2 separate regions of the Homo sapiens genome follow, and region 2 is linked to region 1. The links are contacts of gene promoters, found by promoter capture Hi-C in blood cells and fetal thymus (Javierre and others, 2016). All regions are on one chromosome and are shown on one strand. The core of a region is centred on a gene start or on the middle of the fragment in contact, and the rest is flanking DNA. Distances in the headings are between cores, read along the strand shown.

The links. The method cuts DNA at HindIII sites, captures the fragments that hold promoters and counts their contacts. A CHiCAGO score of 5 or more calls a contact.
Region 2: a fragment that was not itself captured here is called in contact with the fragment with the promoter of CACNA1S in region 1 in 11 of 17 cell types (naive B cells, megakaryocytes, naive CD4 T cells and 8 more); the score reaches 8.9 in naive B cells.

What each region holds. Positions count from the first base shown.
Region 1 is chr1:201,111,134-201,116,301 of GRCh38, forward strand. It overlaps CACNA1S (calcium voltage-gated channel subunit alpha1 S), which reads right to left and starts at 1,293. Exons shown (of 44, transcript NM_000069.3): 1 at 1,055-1,293. The coding sequence starts at 1,206. ASCL5 (achaete-scute family bHLH transcription factor 5) reads right to left here. Exons shown (of 2, transcript NM_001270601.2): 2 at 2,810-4,744. The coding sequence starts at 4,239. The coding sequence ends at 3,619. RefSeq lists a silencer at 3,420-3,469 and an enhancer at 4,120-4,640. The HindIII fragment of the contact is 9,593 bases long and covers 1-5,168 here.
Region 2 is chr1:200,979,007-200,983,899 of GRCh38, forward strand. It overlaps KIF21B (kinesin family member 21B), which reads right to left. Exons shown (of 35, transcript NM_001252102.2): 28 at 4,050-4,088; 29 at 1,954-2,090; 30 at 529-709. Among named protein-coding and RNA genes, the nearest start is that of KIF21B, 42 kb to the right of the region's middle. RefSeq lists an enhancer at 682-831. The HindIII fragment of the contact is 669 bases long and covers 1,022-1,690 here.

The sequences.
Region 1 (5,168 bases), core at 43-2,542:
GGAGGGAGGGCCTAGGAGGGTTTGATGTGGGCGATATACCGCCTGGCCGAGAGCGGGTCAGGGGAACAGGGCTGACCCTGACCCCAAACTATCTCTACTTGCCCCACGTTTCTCTTGTCCTTCCAGTTATCCCTCATTCTCCTTCCTTCTAGGGAACAGCTGGTAGGAGCCCAGCCTTCCAGAACTCTTCAGAAATATTTCAAATATGCCCCACCCTCGCTCTCAGAACCCACTTGACACAGCCCTCCCCTTCTCTCTGTCACTCCTTCCTCCCTTCCCCAAATAACCCAGATATTTTCATCATTCTCCCCACCAGAGCAAATGCAAACATAGCATGAGTTTCAAAGTCCCTGTCCCCAGGGTGGCACGTCTGAGCTAGAACAACCAGGCTTGTTTGGCCTGTGTCTTGGAGCCACTGAGACCAGGTGTCTTTCAGATCCATTTCTCCCCTTGGCTCTGTCCTCAGCTGGGACCTGCCCCCAGAGGAAGCCTTCCTTCAGCTCACCTCTGTCCACTGTCACCCCCCACCCAACCCAAACAAGGGAGAGTTTTCTCAAAGAGGCCATCGCATCTTTTTTTGGTCCCTATCCTATTCTAAAATGAGGCTGGTGCTTCAAAAACCTAGTGGCACCCCATGATAATGTGGATTTGGGCACACATGGGAACAGTCCCCATGAAACAGGCCCCACCCATAGGTGGTCAGTAGGCATCTCTGGTTGTCATCCAGGACTTGGGTGGCCCACTCAGGCCCAGGAAGCCCCACCAAGTCCTCCTTCTCTTCCTCTTCCTCCTCCTCCTCTTCCTCCTCCTCCCCCACCCTCCTCCTCTTCCTCCTCCTCCCCCACCCTCCTCGTCTTCCTCCTCTTCCTCCTCCTCCTCTCCTGCTTAGCCGAGGGCTCCTTCCCCCAGCTCCTCACTCAATTCTGTGAGTTCACCCCATGTCTAAGTGCCAGGCCTCCCTGGCCCTCCTGTAGGAAGTTTGTGCTCTGTGATCACCCCGAATCCCTCCCTCATGACGCACACCCCCCCCCACGGCCCGGGCCCTGAAGGATACTTCCATTCTACAATGCTGATGCAGGCCTTCCTCAGGGGGTTCTCCAGGGTCAGGCAGAACAAGGCCCGGGGTGGCCTTGGCAGAATCTCAGGAACTGGCTTCTTGGGCTGTTTCTTCCTCAGGCCTTCATCCTGGGGTGAGGATGGCTCCATGGCTTCCCTGGGAATCTGGCTTTCTCCTGCTCCCCCACCCCAGTGCTTTCCCTTCCCTGTGTCCCCAATGCCCCCGCCTTGGGGACTAGGCTGGCTGAGGCTGTCGGCTGAGCCTGCCCTGCTGAGCCAGCCAGGGGGCGGGGGCAGGAGTGGGGGCAGGAGGATTACTCTCCTCGCTCCCAGCAAGTAAAATTAGCCTCCACTCGGCTCCCCGCTGCCGGGCCTGAGCTTCTGAGGCCAGGCAGCTGTCATTCCACCCAGCCCAGCCAGTGACTTCCCAATCTGTCCCCTGAGGAGGGTGGGGTGGGTCGGGGGAAGAACTTACACACAGGCCTGGGATGGGGCAGGGGCAGTGGGAGAGGGAGACAGGATGGAAGGTTTCAAGCCTGGGGCAACAGAGGTCAGGAATAGGTAGCCTTGGATATGGAACCTCAAACTGCAGAGTGGCCCCCTCATGCCAAAATTAGGCTTACCCCTCCTCAGCCCCATGACATTGTCTGGAGAAGGCACTGGGCAGCCTAAGTCAGGACAGCTCCACAGCAGCCCCTACCCATCTCAGTATCTGCACCATCAGCCAAAACTCCCCAAGCATACCCTCAACCCACCCCCACAAGCAATCCCATGTCAGAGAAACAGTAAACCCCTCTCCAGTGGGCTAGAAGGCTCCCAGAACAACCCTGAGTGTGCACACCTCTGGCATAGCACCTGCCTCACTGTGGAGCATCTGCTGTGTATCTTTCTTCCCCATCTCCTCCCATCCCTACAGGTGTAAAGGTTGTGTGCATTATCTCTGGGACTCTGGCCCCTTCTCTGCACAGTCCCCCTATGTACTATGCTCCCTGTAAATGTTCACTGAGGCCAGGCATGGTGGCTCACGCCTGTAATCCCAACACTTTGGGAGGCTGAGGTGGGAGAATGGCTTGAGCTCAGGACTTCAAGACCAGTCGGGGCAACGTAGTGAAACTCTGTCTCTACAAAAAATACAAAAATTAGCAGGGTATGGTGGTGTGTGTTTGTAGTCCCAGCTACTAGGGGGGCCAAGGTGGGAGGATCAGTTGAGCCTGGGAGGTTGAGGCTGCAATGAGCCAAGATCTGGCCACTGCACTCCAGCCTGGATGACAGAGTGAGACAGAGTGAGACCTTGTCTCAAAAAGAAAAGTTCATTGAGGATAGCCACGGTAATCCCAGCACTTTGGGAAACCAAGGTAGGTAGATAACTTGAGGTGAGGAATTCGAGACCAGCATGGCCAACATGGTGAAACCCGCATTCTACTAAAAATACCAAAGATTAGCGGGCGTGGTGGTGTGCACCTATAATCCCAGCTACTCTGGAGGCTGAGGCAGGAGAATTGCTCAAACCCAGGAGAAGGAGGTTGCAGTGAGCAGGGATTGAATCACTGCACTCCAGTCTGGGCAACAGAGCAAAACCTGTCTCAAAAAAAAAAAAAAAAAAAAAAAAATTCATTGAACGCCTGAGCTAACAACACTGAATCTTAAATGTGCTGAGCTAACAGCGAACCCCACATATCCTCCCAGCAAGTACTCTGGGCTGGGAGTGAGAATAAGAAAGGGGCACCAGGAAGGGTGAGGGTAGACAATGATCTAGGAATGAGAAAATTCAACAATCCTTTTATTTAGCTCTTTGGTGCCGACGCAGTGCCTATGTACCTATATGCACGCCCCCCTCCCCCAAGGCTTACAGTCTGAGGGAAAAAAACCACAGTCCCCACCCAACCTGGGACAAAACTAGACGACCTCATGGGGGGGATGCGGGGAGGGAGTAACCCCCCCTCCCAACCCAGGAAGCCAGAGAACGCCACCGGGGCACACAGGTCGCCTCTGCTGAGTCTGTAGGTTCGGTCTGGGCTGAGCGCCAGCAGCAATCTGGCCTCCCATCCCTTCCTCTGGGTTCCTTTCTCGAGGAGTAAGCGTGCTCCCAAAGAAGTCGCTAGTATCTGAGGCCATCTGGTGGAGAGCAGTGGCATGGTAACCGAGGGCTCAAAGTCGGGCTCGCATCCCGGGGACTCGCAGAGACTGGACTGCGCCTGCGGCAAGGAAGGACGGAGCAGAGCCACCTGAGGCCGAGCGGGAGCCAGACCCAGGGATGACCGTCCTGGGGAGCCCCTCTGCACCCCGGAGGGGACGCAGGACGCCCGGAGCAGTCCCAGGCCCTGCCCCTCGCTTCACCCACGGAGCTCCTAGGTCTCTATCGTGCCCATCGTACCCGCTGCCCTGCACTTCCGCCCCAAGCTGGTGGAGGAGGGAGGGTGTCGCAGACACGGGAGCGCCGCGGACCTCCTACAGTCACCGTCCTGCGGCGCATCGCGGGTGACCCAACAGCCTCCCGCTGCTCCCGAAAGTGGGACGGGGCCGGCGGATCATCCTCCAAGCCGGGGGCGGCCACAGGCCCGATCAATGCCAGGATTCCTCCGACTCCAAGAAAGGCGACGGGGAGAAGCAGGAGGACTCGGATGACTCCGGCACCAGGGAGGAGGGCGCCCGGGCCTCGCCGTCGCCAGGGCGGTCGGGACGGGGGGTGGCGGGCGGCGCGGGGCAGGGCCCGGTGCCCGGGAGGCCGCGGGAAGCGGGGGGCGTCGAGCCGTCGGGGGCCGAGCTCAGCAGCTCTTGCAGGTACTTTATGTAGCGGATGGCGGCGCGCAGCGTCTCCACCTTGCTGAGTCGCTTCTCAGCCAGGGCGCCGGGGAGGTGGCCGCGGAGGCGAGCGTAGCCCTCGTTGACGCACTTGACTCGCTGCCTCTCGCGCTCGTTGCGCTTCTGGATGAAGGCTGGCTCGAAGGGGTATTCGTAGACCCCGAAGGCGCCGGGGAAGGGCACGTAGGGGAACACCCCCGCATAGGCGTCGTAGTAGGGCGGCTCTGCTGGGCCCGGGTACAGCAGGAAGGGCACGTTGCCCAGGGGCTCGGCGGGGGGCAGGGGCGCCTGCCGGGGAGGGGGCATGACGCCCAGCTGCATGCAGCTGGGGGGCCCCAGAGGCCTCCGGTCCACCAGAGCCCGGCAGAAGTTATTGTTCATGGTGCCGCGTGGAGCTGGACCCAGAGCGAGGCCTCCACCGAATGGCCCCGGCTTGGGGTCTGCACCGTCTCCACCAGTGGGGCAAGTCACATCGCTAGCAGCAGCTCTTGGGTACCAGGACTTGCTAGGGCCTCTTTTCGCCCTTTAGGGTGGCTTCCAATGACTCCCTAACAAGAGCCATCGCCCTAGACAAGTGTGGCCCCTCTCAGGAGGTCGGTGCACGCCTTCTCAGAGCCAGCCCATGGCGCCGCGGAACTCTGAGGGCCCGCACCCCGTTCCGCAGCACCCATGGGCATGGCCACAGACCCGCCCACCCTGCCTCTTGCTGCCACCCAACATGGGCACCTCAGGCCTAAACCACGGGCTCCATGTCCTCCACACCCACCCCAGCGCCTGGTCCTTGGTCCTCGCGGCCTTCGGGATCCCCGGGCTGTCCGGGGTCCCCAAACTGATGGCTGCTGTTAGGAGTGCGCCAGCTCAGTGGAGGGAGTCCCCGGGAACATTTCTAAAGAAGAGGAGAGGAGAGTGAACATATCAGTTAGGAAAGACCTGTATTATGGGCTTCTTTGTATCATCCCCACCCGCAAACGGGATTGTAAGCCTCATGAGGAGAGGCGGTTGGCTACTGAAGGGGCACAGATCTGGGTTAAAATCTTGTGTCCACTCCTTAATAGTCGGGTGACCACTCTGAGTCGTGGTTTCCATAACGGAAGGGCAAGGGAAACATCCTTGACAGGAAATTAATAAGATATGAGAATCAAATGTGAAAAAATATATGCAAAAAACACCTCCTAAAGGTCATAGCTTATAAAAATGCCCAGTTTTGTCATGTCCCTTGAGACTGGGGGATTAAGTCTCATCACTGATCCCTTCCGGGGTCTTACATCTAGAAGCGGGTCTGAGACTGCTTATTGGATTAGCAGCAGCAG
Region 2 (4,893 bases), core at 106-2,605, 130 kb before region 1:
TCAAATTAATAGACTGTAGCTTACAGTGTTAATGTAAGGATGTAGCATGACTTCTGCTAAAAAAAACCACTTTATTTTGCAAGGCTCTTGGTCTCAGTTCTGCCTCCCCTGCCCTATGCCTGTGTGTCTGAGACTGTCGGGGCAGGGCTCAGGGCCATGACTGGGTGGTCGCCTACACAGGCAGTGGCCAGCATGGCTTTGGAGGCTCACCCTGTTTCCTAGCTCCTCTTTCAGACTCATAGGATGATATCTAACACACCTCAAGGGGCAGGGCTTGGGGGACTGGGCTGTGGGTGGAGGCCAGGCAGGCCAAAAATTCCTCTAGTGGTGCTGCCCCAGACACTGTCTCCCAAACCAAGAGATCTCACCTTGTACCCCAGGGTCAAGCCAAGTTCATAGGCTGGTAATGGTCTCTGTGCCCATGTAGCCGGGCTGTGCTGTGCTGAGTGGGTCACTTGGGCTGGGAGCATCTGTACCCAACACAGCCTGCTGCAGCCGACCACTGTGAGGCAGGCGGGGGTTACTCACGTGAGAGTCCGAATGCACTTGGCTGAGTCCCGGATGTCCCACACCTTGATGTAGGAGGTGGACACGGAGAACACAAGCCCCGAGTGGCTGCAGTACTTGATGGAGACCACGTTGTTGGGGTGGCCCTTTAGAGCTGCGATCTCCTGTCCCGTAACCAAGTTCCACATCTTGCAGCTTCGGTCTGTGAGAGATGGGAGGAAGCCACAGGGAGGGGAGGGATGTCAGCCACTAGGGGGCGCAGCTCCACCTCTGCAGGGGCTGCCCAGGATAGGGGAAAGGGATCCACAGGGCTCCAGAGGACGGAGCTCCAGGTCTGAAGAGGAAAAAAACACATACACATGTGCTCACTGGCATGTGTGTGCTAGTAAAAAACTCAGGGAAGAGAGAATTCCCTCAGAACTTCAGACCAGGGTTCCTCAAGCAAACTTTCCACTAACACCAGAGTTTTGTGAGCCATACTGCTAAGGTGTCCAGGGCTAAAATAAAATTCTTAAGCTTTTATGGTGCCTGTTCCTCCAAACACTAATTGCTGACAAAGCAAATGAACCAGTGCAAGCAAATGTTATGGGAAAACTTGGAATCAATCAATCACACCTAGATTGACAGCTATCCCCCTACTGCCGTGGAGAGCTATATTTATGCTTGTGTTATAGTATGCGTGTCTATTACAGACTAGTTCTTTCTGTCGGTAAAATGAATGAATGAAAGAGTAAATAAAGAATTTTGTATTTGCTTATTGAGATAGGGTCTTGCTCTGTTGCCCAGGCTGGAGTGTAATTGCACAAACACAGCTCACTGCAGCCTTGACCTCCCGGACTCAAACGATCCTCCCACCTCAGCCTCCTGAGTAGCTGGGGCTACAGGCACATGTCATTGTGACTAATTTTTTATTTTTTGTAGAGACAGGATCTCACTATTTGCCCACGCAGGTAGTCTCAAACTCCTGGGCTTAAGCAATTCTCTTGCCTCATGCTTCCAAAGTGCTGCAATTACAGGTATGAGCCACTGTGCCCAGCCTATCTGCTGGTAAAATGTTTGACTTTGTTGCTGTAATCAGGTGAGCGTGACTTTGTAAAGTGCTGCTGCTGAGATCATAGGGAGTGCCTAGATGTATGAGCTGGGGTGATGTTGGGCAGTGCAAGTACAGGTGGGGCACCCAAGAAGCTTCCTGAAGTTTCCCTGGAAGGTCTGGAAGGAAGTGCTGGATGGAGCCACCAGGTCAGGTATGAGGGAAGGCTTGGCCAAGGATGCATGGGATGGGGGCCTTGAGCCAAGGTAAGAAACAAGGGTAGTAAGCAAATAGACCCCATATCCTCAACTCCTGGGGGCTCTATGTTCTTTTCTCCTTCACAGACCACTCTGACAAAGGAAGCAGGGGTGAGTAGGAGACCCCAACCCTACCTGGCTAGTTGGCGTTCCACATACCTTTGGACCCTGTGAATAGCAACTCATCTGTGGCATCCAGGCAGAGGATGGGCTTGGTGTGGCCTTCGGCCATGGAGACACACTGCAGTGGGGCCGTCCGTGCACCCTTGGCTCCTCCAACCGGGGAGATGATGCCCCTTCCCGGGAGAGAGGGAGAGAAGGCATGCTCGTCAGCCAGGGAGACTGTGGCCAGGCTGATCAAGGCACGTGTGTGGGATGGGGACAGGGCAGGGAGGGGATGAGGACCAAATAACAGAGACTTTAAGGACTCCAGCCAAATTCCACCAAGGTCTGAGAGCCGGGAACGGGCTACACAGAGTGGAGATAGCCTGTCTTAATCAGCAATCATCAGTTGCCATCCTGAGCACTTCTGGGGAAGCAAACCCGGTGTTAGGCACAGCTAGAAGGTGCAGGAGGTGTGGGCTCTGTCCACAGAGAGTTCCTATCTGACAATGTCTGACCCAGATCCTGAGATGTGAATGCGCCCGGGTCCAGCTGGGCAGGGCAGAGGCCCAGGGGCTGGAACTGGGCCCTGTAGCTTCCACCAGAAGCTGCATGCTGCTTCAGTTAACCGAGTGTGAGGGAGGGGTGCTGAGAGGGAGGGTTGCTCAGGCCATCACCCCCATGCACCCTGATCCCAGTAAACCCTTCTGCTGGTAACTGCCTCTGAGGCTAGCATCTTCCAAGCAGAGAGCCATGTGTACACATACACACTCCTTTTGGACCAGCGGGGTCAAACTTGTGACTGGCATTTACGAAGGGCTAAATCCCTTTGGGGCTGGCTTGGCTTTGGGTAGGAGGTTTGGGGCTCTCTGGAATGGGGCTGTATGGACCTGGAACAACACCTCCTCGCTCCCATGATGCTAGGGGAGCGAGAAGGAGGCTGGCCCAAGTGAGCGTGAGGGTTTTGCCACATCCAGCTTCCTGAGGTTCTGAAGATGATTTTTTTCTCAGTGAGGGTCTTTTGGGATGAGACCCTGGCTGAGTCATGTCTGAAAATATATCCTAGCTTTGTTTCTTTTCCCAAGAGAAAGCTGCTCCTGACAGTGACTCTGGCCAAGGGTCTACTGAAATGATCAAGGTTTTGCCTGTGGCGCTTCTGGCACAGCTCCCCCCAGACTCTGCCAGGCCCACCCTTGAGGATGGTGGTCGGATACGTCCAGCTGCCAGCCAGGTGCCACACATGCACAAATAGCTCCCCAAGCTGCTCCAGCACCCTGCTTCTGACAATGGTTTGGCTTCACTGCATGGCCACAGAACTATGTCAAAGGGATCATGCTCCCCCCGATGACAGCCTGGCCAGCTGGCTAACATCTTGTGGTGGCAAAGCCTCATGATTCACAGTAAACCAGTTGTCGACACTCAGGGCTGGAGGCTCGAGGAGCTGAGACAGCCCACCAGGAGAGCCGAGGAAGCTCTCAGCCCACGAGGGGCCCTTGGCTTGTCAGGGGCTCGGGACCCCAGGTCCTGAGTCTTGCTCCTCGTTGTGCGGTGTCATGCTCGGCTGGCTGGGAGAACCAGCCTCCAGCCATCCCACAGGCTGCGGGAAGGGGAGGTACCCACACATCTGTGTGCTAACAGGTGTGGGCAAGGGGCGCTGCCCCCATGGTGCCCCTCCCCCCATGGTGCCCCTCCCAGAGCCAACGTCTGAAAAGCTCACCCCCAGCACAAGCTGAGGGAATCAAAGGACCCAGAGCACACCACCGGCACCCCCAAAAGGAGCAGCCTTCAGCATTTCCCCTGCCTTCCAGTCGTGGAGAACTCAGCCCCAGCCCAGCATCCCCTAGGCCTCCATGCTGCGCCCCTCCCTGCCCAGGTGAGGAGGGAGAAGAGAACAGGGCCTGCGACAAGCAACTGTGCACCCTCCCCAAGCCCCCAGCTCTAGCTGGCGCAGTCCAAGGCCTTGTGGCCACCCTGAGAGAGAGGAACCATGGGGGCAGGAACAGGTCTGGAGAGGGGGGCAGCAGGAAGGGGAGTGGAGGGGCCGCATGCTGAGGACACGGGTGTCAGGCGGGAGGGATGCAGCAAGAGACAGAGAAGAGAGGGTGCCGAGAGTGAGAGTGGGGAACCAAACACGAGAGACATTCTGTGTGTACCTCAGGACCTCCGACAAAGAGGAGTCGCTGTCATCAGACCTGGGGAGGGCAGAAAATTAGCTGGATTAGGGGGTGAGAGGAGACACACACAGAGGGACGCAGAGGCGGCAGCAGTGTGTGGGGTGGTCAGAGGGCAGGTTATTCTCTTCCAGCGGAGCAGAGACAGGCAGAGGAATGAGGGCCTCGGGAGAGCAGGGGAGGAGGTGGGTGGGCTGGTCTGGGAGCTGGGACTCTCCCCCAGGAGTGGGCTGCCAGGGTCTCTCGGCTGGCAAGGGAGGAGCGAGGAGGGGGCCACGGGGAGATGTGGGAGCACCAGCCCCACACATGGGGAGACGTTTCCAGGGCTGTTTGCTGGTTCCAAGCTCTCTGGCTGCCCCATCGCACAAGCTGGGGGCACCTGCCCCACCCCAGCAATGCTCATACCTGCCCAAGGCTGAAGGAAGCCATGCCTGATCCTACCCCTCCCTGGGAGCTGGCTTCTTCCAGCAATTCCTCAGGGGCTCACTTATTTACAAAGCCCACTATCCCTAGGGGGCCCACTGGGACAGTGCCTAGAAGTTGGCTGTGCACCATGCACAGGCTCCAAGACCTGGACCATTGGACAAGACCAAGGCCTCCAGAAGACCATCAGGCTGGGATGGGCACAGCCCTGCCCCAATCCTTCCAAAAAGGGGACCTGTTGATTGTAACAACATGGAGATGGGCTAGGAGTGATCCATGGCTCCCCCCACAGCAGCCTGAGCCAAGATAGGTTTGGGGAAGGAGGTGTCTGGGGTGCCAGGTCTGCAGGGCTCTGACTCCTGGGCTCAGCATTCATCAAGTAGTATTTTGACCCAGGAAGGGG